Regions from separate parts of the Homo sapiens genome. Here region 1 is linked to region 2. The links are contacts of gene promoters, found by promoter capture Hi-C in blood cells and fetal thymus (Javierre and others, 2016). All regions are on one chromosome and are shown on one strand. Each heading gives the region's core, a stretch centred on a gene start or on the middle of the fragment in contact. The rest is flanking DNA. Distances are from core to core; before and after follow the strand shown. Region 1 holds the start of ZNHIT2 (zinc finger HIT-type containing 2). Region 2 holds the start of CFL1 (cofilin 1).

Evidence for each region. Contacts are between HindIII fragments. The CHiCAGO score rates a contact against its expected background, and 5 or more counts as called.
Region 1: a fragment that was not itself captured here is called in contact with the fragment with the promoter of CFL1 in region 2 in 1 of 17 cell types (fetal thymus); the score reaches 5.3 in fetal thymus.

What each region holds. Positions count from the first base shown.
Region 1 is chr11:65,116,886-65,120,834 of GRCh38, forward strand. ZNHIT2 (zinc finger HIT-type containing 2) reads right to left here and starts at 816. Exons shown (of 1, transcript NM_014205.4): 1 at 1-816. The coding sequence starts at 768. FAU (FAU ubiquitin like and ribosomal protein S30 fusion) reads right to left here. Exons shown (of 5, transcript NM_001997.5): 5 at 3,745-3,921. The coding sequence ends at 3,796. RefSeq lists enhancers at 236-779, 772-1,066. The HindIII fragment of the contact is 956 bases long and covers 886-1,841 here.
Region 2 is chr11:65,856,930-65,860,663 of GRCh38, forward strand. CFL1 (cofilin 1) reads right to left here and starts at 1,251. Exons shown (of 4, transcript NM_005507.3): 1 at 1,168-1,251. The coding sequence starts at 1,170. It overlaps MUS81 (MUS81 structure-specific endonuclease subunit), which reads left to right and starts at 3,504. Exons shown (of 16, transcript NM_025128.5): 1 at 3,504-3,734. RefSeq lists silencers at 817-1,216, 2,627-2,706 and enhancers at 823-1,363, 1,297-1,346, 1,737-1,806, 2,367-2,456, 2,977-3,026 and 2 more. The HindIII fragment of the contact is 11,606 bases long and covers 1-3,350 here.

The DNA of each region.
Region 1 (3,949 bases), core at 114-2,613, 740 kb before region 2:
GACTTGCTGGGCACCCAGGGCTCCGGAAACGCCGAGCAGTGTGGCACAGAAGTCAGAGAGCAGCGCGTCGTCACCGCCGTGATACAGGGCGAGAGTATGCGCGTAGGCGAACAGCACATTGGGCAGCTGGAAGCGCACGAGCGGCGAGACTGGGCCGCGGCTCAGGCTGACTATCGCGGGGATGCGGGTGGGTACGACGGGCGTGCAGGCCCCCGGGACATCTCCAAGAACCCGCTCGGCGGCCGCGGGCTCCGCGGCGGAGGCATCTTTCACAGAATCCGGCGGGGTCCTCGCAGGGGCGAGCTCCAGCTCCGCGGCGTCACTACCCGGGGCATTATCCAGCTCCTCCAGAAGCTGCGGTCCGGCTCCGCGGTTCCACCACCACGGCCGCCATGGAGGCAGCAGCCGCCCGGCCTCACCGCGGCTCAGCAGCCGCTCGAAGGCAGCTTTTTCGCCCGGCGCCAGCCGCTCCCAGAGTCCCGATAGGCCGCCGGGCGCCGGGCCGGAGCTGAGGCCTGCTTCCCCAGGCTCGTCCTCGGTCTCGCGTTGCTGACGCAGCCGGCGTAGGGCGCTTGCTAGGCGGCTGGGAGGAGCGCTGCAACCGCGGAGCTCTCCCAGCACCTGGTCACGGTAGAAGTTTTCTGCGCAGGTGCCATGCGTCCGGTAGCAGCGCAGCGAGCAGTAGGGCGCATTACAGCGAGGGCAGGTGTAACGCGCTGGCTGGACCTCCCCCGCCGGGCAGAAGCCACAGGGCCCGGCCGGCTCCATGGCAACTGGCACCGCGATCTACCTGCGAACGCACGCCGGTGGTAGTTCGAAACTTCCGGGGCTTCTTCGATTACTTCCGGTTCGCAGCGCGGCCGACGGCGCGCTGTGTTTTCGCAAAGCTTCCGAGGATTCTCGGCAATTTCCGCCCACGCCCGAAAGCCAAGCCCCACCCCTTTCCCTAGTAGGGCGAGAGCAGGCCCAGAAGCCGGGCGTCAGGTACGAGCCCCGCCCTATGCGATGACGCAAGGAGCGAAAAAATGGGTCTGGCGAGCGCTTCGCCGGTGCCACGTCTCCCCCTAGTGGTCACACCAAAACGTGGCCCGATCATCTAAAGAGAAAACCCTCTTTTTAGCACTACAATGTGCTGTGGCATAAATCCATCTTTACTAGGCACCTACTCTGGGCCACTAATTGTGCCAAGCCTACGGGAGGCGATGCATCCCTGCGCTGGACACAGACAAATAAAATGCACTAGGGGACACAGACAAATAAAAGGACAGTTAGGGCCAGGTACGGTGGGTCACGCCGGTAATCCCAGCATTTTGGGAGGCCGAGGCGGGCAGATGACCTGAGGTCAGGAGTTTGAGACCAGCCTGACCAACATGGAGAAACCCCGTCTCTACTAAGAATACAAAATTAGCCGGGCGTGGGGGACGGGTGCTTGTAGTCCCAGCTACTCCTGAGGCTGAGGCAGGGGAATCGCTTGAACCCGGGAGGTGGAGGCTGCAGTTAGCCGAGATCGCGCCACCGCTCTCCAGCCTGCGAGCCTGGGCCACAGAGAGAAACTCCACCTCAAAAAGATAAATAGAAAGCAGCATTTAAGAAATATCTGAGCTCCTATGATTTTTTTCCTCCAAAACTGCCTCTTCTTTTCATTAAGTATCTTCTCATTAAATACCACTATTCATCCATCTTATTAAGTGCAGGCCCCATTCTAGGTGCCAAGAACACAATGCACATCAAAGGGAGCCGGGGGTCCCTGTTCTAATAGAGCTCACTCTTGTGGTGGAGTGGGGGGTGTGATGAACCAAACTGTGAGTGTTCTTTGCATCCCTGCTACTACTGGTGGTCTAAGCTTCCTGACCCCTCATGTGGATGACAACACATTAAGTGTTTTTCCTAACTTTCTTGCCAGCCCTCCAGAAAAACCTGCCAGAGAAATTAGATCACAAGTCAGATGAGATCCATCTGTTACTCAAAACCCTTCTGCGACCCTCCATTGCACTTGGACTCAAACCCAAACTCCTCTCTATGGCTGACAAGGCCTTGCAGGATCTGCCCGCCCCCAGCCCTAGACATCACCTCTTCCCCATCTTCACACAGTCCTCTAGGCTTGAAATATTCCCCTACCTGATCACTTGACTGGTTCATCTCAGGTCTCACTCACGTCATTTAAACAGGACCTCTCGGCTGGGCACAGCGGCTGACACCTGTAATCTCAGCACTTTGGGAGGCCAAGGTGGGCGGATCACTTGAGCCCAGTTCAAGACCAGCCTGGGCAACATAGCAAAACCCTGTCTCTACAAAAAAGTACAAAAAATTAGCCAGGTGTGGCGGTGCATGCCTGTAGTCCTCAGCTACTTTGGAGGCTGAGTAGGATCACCTGGGCCCAGGAGTTGGCGGCTGCAGTGAGCCATGATTGTGCAACTGCACTCCAGCCTGGATGAGAGAGACCTTGTCTCAAAAACAAAAAAGAAAAGGCCGGGCACTGTGGCTCATGGCTGTAATCCCAGTACTTTGGGAGGCCGAGGTGGGCGATCACGAGGTCAAGAGATCGAGACCATCCTGGCCAACATGGGGAAACCCCATGTCTACTAAAAATACAAAAATTAGCTGGGCGTGGTGGCACATGCCTGTAGTCCCAGCTACTCAGGGGGCTGAGGCAGGAGAATGGCGTGAACCCGGGAGGCTGAGGTTGCAGTGAGCTCGGATTGTGCCACTGCACTCCAGCCTGGCGACAGTGCGAGACTCTGTCTCAATAAAATAAAATAAAGAAAAAAGAAAAACAAAAAAAGAGGCCCTCTCTGGGATGCTATTGTATCTGTCCACATCCTCCCCCTTTCTAAACTGCTGGAAGGCAGAAACCATGTCTTTAACACCACAGAGACAAAAATAGCCAAGATTCACACACTCACTGTAAGCCAGATGTTGATTTACATCCTTTAACCCTCACAGCAGCCCTGGAGATGGCAGAGATTAAATTAGTAGTTAGTTCAAAGGCCAGCCACCCAGTAAATGGAGTAGGAAGAAAAAGAAGGTCCAAACTCAGGCAGTCAAAGTCCACAGCCCAAGGGCTTTACCCTGTTGGATGCTATTTCTCAAGAACTGGCAGGTCCAGAAACTTTAGCTGAATGAGTAAGTGGGGTTCAGAAGTGCTGGGAGGCTCAGTTGCCAGAAGAGAACCCTGAATCAGCCCCAGAGGTAACCCAACTTTTGGGAACACTGAAACCTCACTATATCCAATCACAGATGTGATTAGGTTACCAAGTCCGGCCAGGCAGTCACAGAGGTACAAACGAGGCCATGCTCCCAACATAATATTTACTTCTAAAACCAAGGCAGACCAGATTCCTGCCCTGGACTCTAAGGCCACAGCTGGTACCAAGTTCAGGGAACGGCCAGGTTCACCTTCTATACAAACCTCTTCCCCCACCCATCCCTTCTATTGCTGCCTCCATAACAAACCTCTCACCACAGTGATTCCTGCTACCTTCTCTGTTTAGAAGATGAAAAAGAATGACCTGGGGGGACTGATCAAGTTACTTAGGATAGGGAATAACCCCAATTTTACATCTGAAGCCCCCCAGGATCTGTAGCTGTTTCTTCACAGGAAATTTCTCTTGTAGTTTACCATTTCTTCCCCCCATACCAAAGGCTTCTGCCTTTTCTGCCTCACTGTTCTCCTAGGGGACATACCACCAACCCGAGAAGCACACCTCTCCCTGAGGCCTTGCAAGTAAAGATGAAACAATGCGATGACTGAACTAAGTGGCTTTTTTATTAGAGAAAGCCAGAATTACAAAAGACTTAAGAGTTGGCATTGGGGCCCTTCTTCTTGCCAAAGGTGGGCACAACGTTGACAAAGCGCCGGTTGTACTGCATCCGCCGCTTAGCCCGACCTGTCTTCTTCTTCTTCTTCTCCTGTTTGGCCACCTGGAGAAGGGAAGGTTAATCAGGCCCT
Region 2 (3,734 bases), core at 1-2,500:
CTCTGCGTCGTGCTTCGGGGTGCCCGAGCCAGGAGAGGGAGGGGCAATCCAAGGTAAATCTGGTCCCCCAAACTCCCCGGAACTGCAGAAGAAGCCGGCCACGTGACTCGGCCGCATCCGGAGTGGGCGGGGACAGGAGATCGGCTGGGCCCGGCCCCCTCACCAATGCAGAAACGCGTATCCGAGAGGCAGCAGCATCTCCAGGTCCCTAACCCTGTGGAATCGCCCTAAAACAACGGGTGTATCAGACCCATCTCCTGCAGGCAGGAGCCTGGGCAAGCTACATAACCTTCGGTTTTCTCAGCCCTCGGGCCGTATACAGGGGGCGGGGTGGTTTCCGGGCGGTGCCCGCCTGGGTCACTTCCCTAAACTCGGCTCCACCCTCACTCAGGCCCATCCGGGAAGGCCTCGCTGGCCCAGGGCTTCGGCACCGGCGGCCGGGCCTGAGCGTGCGCGCACGCGCCGACAGACAGCGCCGTTCCAGCCCTCGCCCGATGCACGGGTGAGAACGCAGCTCGTTAGATGCGCTCCCGAACGGGCCGCGGTCTCTGCGATGCCCCCTCCAAGCCTTGCGGTGCAAGGCCTTAATCGCAGGCACCCACGCCCCAACCGGGACCCCGTCTTCCCAGCATCACCCCTCGCCGCGCCAGCACCCGCCCCTCCCGGGCGCAGGCATCCCTGCCACCTGCTCCCGAGACGGACCCGGCTGCCGAGGGAGGGTGACGCGCAGACAGGAACAGCCTTGGGTGGGGCGCGCGCGCCGAGACCTCTCGCGCGCTTTTTCCTCGCCGCCCCCGGGCCGGGTTTGGACGCCGCATGCTCCAGTCGAGAGCGCGCCCCTAAGAAGAAAGGCGCGACGCCGGCCGTTCCGCGAGGGGCGCCCCAGCGCGCGCCCCGAACCCCTCCCCCCGCGGCCGGTGTCCGCGCGGGCGCACCAGCGGGTGGGGGAGGGGAGCCCAGGCGGAGCGCGAGCGACGTCCAGACCGGCCCTCCCCGGCGCCCACGGGCGCGCACGCGCATTCCGGCACCGCCCGCCCCTTCGTGCGAGACCCTCATCCCGCCCGGGGCGCTGGGGGAGGGGGTGCGGACGTCGCTCCCCAGTCGCTTCCCGCGCGCAGGCGACCGACCCGCAGCCGCCTCCCTCAGGCGCCGTGGCCTGCCGCTCACCATGTTTCCGGAAACGAAAAGGAGAGGGCACCGAGAGCCGCAGAAGACGAGAGCGCTGCAGCCGCTGCCGGGACCCGACTGAACGCGGCCTCTCCCGGCCCCTTCCGTTTAGTAGGAGCCGCACAATGAGGGGTGGGGCGGGCTTCCGGCGCTCCCACCGCGAGCCGACGGGAAATGGAGTCCGCTGGCCCTGCGCCGCCGCCTCGCTCGCTGGGTAACGGAGTCTTCCCGCCGGCCGGCTCCGAGCTGCAGTGCATGTAGGGAAATGTAGGCCCAGGTCCTGGGCGGCACCGCAGCGCGCAGCGCGAGCCCATTGGTCCAATTTCCCAGGAACCGCTCTGAGCCCGGCGAGGCGGCGCTCAGTAAAATGACCCGAAAACGATCCCCGACTAAGCGGCTCTTTATCCCACAGCAAAACGGCTTTCTTAAGACCCATCTGGTATTATCTGGATCCCTTGGCCTGAAATTTTTGAGTGAGGTTAGGGTTTTGCATTTCTGAATCGAAGCAACTATTGATTAGCCTGGAATCCCGACCTAAAGCAAAGGAAATCACAAGTATGAAGGCGTCGTCAGTCGGATAAACACTAGTACTCTGCATGTGTAAAGCCACTCTCGTCTCCTGAAAAAAGGCCATGTCCAACGTCAGTAAAACAAGAATAGGAGGAAAAGGCACAGGGGAAAGGTACAAGGAAATCTCTGAGAGCTTTGTTCTTGTTTAAAGATGTTTGGCAAAGTCATGAGGCGTTAAAGGGTAAAGACGAGGGTTTGTGCATTCAATTCAAGGCTTCTTTACATGCCTTTACGTGCCAATGAGAAGAAATAGATATTAAACCAGACTTGAACCCAGCTCTCGAGTTGATAGCCAGGTACATGGTTATTCTAACATCCGCAAAACTGAGACAAGTTCTGTGGTAGTATATGCCTTAAAAAAAAAAAGAAACGAGCGGGGGACTCCGGGATGATTTTGTTGTTCTAGAACAGTGACCACAGCCTCACACTCTGCAGGAAAAGACTGGGTCGCAAACAAGTCAGAGGCAAACCCAGAAAGGGAACTGGGGGCCCTAATCCTATAAACGGAATTAAGGGTGTAAACGGAGAGCGATGCCTGGGAGTGGGGTACCTTGCAGAGCATACCGGGGGTTGTAGTCGGGGACATTCCACAGCACCGCCCCCGCCCGGACTCCCGGCGCTCCAGGTGGAGACAGCAGCTTGACCCCGCCTCCCGCGAGCGACCCTACATGAATATGAGGCTAGCGCCCCCTTTTCTGAGCCTTAGAGTTTCCAAGAGCAACGGGGAGAGAGAGGGGGGCTTCGCAGTTACCCTGGAGACGCGCTCTCGCCCGCCCCCAGCCGCGGGATGCCCTAGATGTCCTTATTAGGACAAGAGACTCGAGGGGGCGGGGCCAGCCCGACAGCCGGCTTGAGGCTCCTTATAAGGCCGCGGCGGGCGGGAGGCGGGAGCCGGAGCCCATTGGTCCAATTTAGCTTGGCTGGGGCTACTGCGCCGTGGGCTAGGCACAGTCCTGAGGGGCGGGACTGGAGCTCTGGCGCCCACCTCTCCCTTCCTCGCAGGCTGGAGACCTGCGTGTTGCGACTTCCGGCATAGCAGCTAGAGGCCGGGTGCTGCTTCAAACCCTGGCGGGTCGCCTGTGTCCAACTCAGCTATACGTGTCTTTCAGGCTTCTCAGGTTGAAGCCCTTTGTAGGGTTTCCATCTTCAACCTCCCTGAGGGTCTCCCACTTCCGATTAGCCACAAAAATGACGAAGTGTTCTCCCCTCTACCTGTGTCTGGGCTTCTTAACCCGCAGCCTGCTCCTCCGCTCCCAAACCCAACCGCGTGCCCATCTCAGGCCTCCCCAACTGCCAGGATGCCCAAGCACCTCTTACTTACAGTCCTCCTTCCTCTAGGCCTCTGACCCCCGACATTCCGAGTTCTATTTTGGGCCTTCTCGGCACGTCCCCGACTTCCTCTCCACCACACACTCTTTGCCCTGTATCCCGGGGATGAGGATCACCATTTCCTCCAAGGGTCCTGCAGCTCCTCCTGCCTTACCTTTGTGTCCTCATCCCCGGCACCCATTTCTGGGTGTCCCTCCCACCAATACGTTTGCACCCGTTTGTCTCCTAGCCCCCGCCTCTCCTGGACTCTTTTCAAGACCAGTCTCCATCTCCAGCCTCCTTCAAGCTTGAGGCTGAAGCTGACAATCTTAAGAGACCTTAGAGCCGCCAAGCTCAGGTTAGTCCGTTAAGCGCCGCCCAGCCAGTCCTCCCCGTCACAGGGGGCGCTGTCCGCCTTCCTCTCGCCTACACAAAGACCCCGCTCTCGAATCTGGGGTGACAGGAAGGAGCCGGTCCAGGCTCCGGGGGCTGGGAAAGGGCGCGTCTCAAAGGCTGGCTGGAGTGGAGCCAAGGGAAAAGATCGTTAGAGACAGCGCCCCTGACCAACCACTTAGAGCAGCGCAGGGGTGGGAGGGCGGCCGCAGGCTCTCCTCTCGTTAGTGCCCCCTGTGTTTGGGGCCCCGTGATCTCAACGGTCCTGCCCTCGGTCTCCCTCTTCCCCCGCCCCG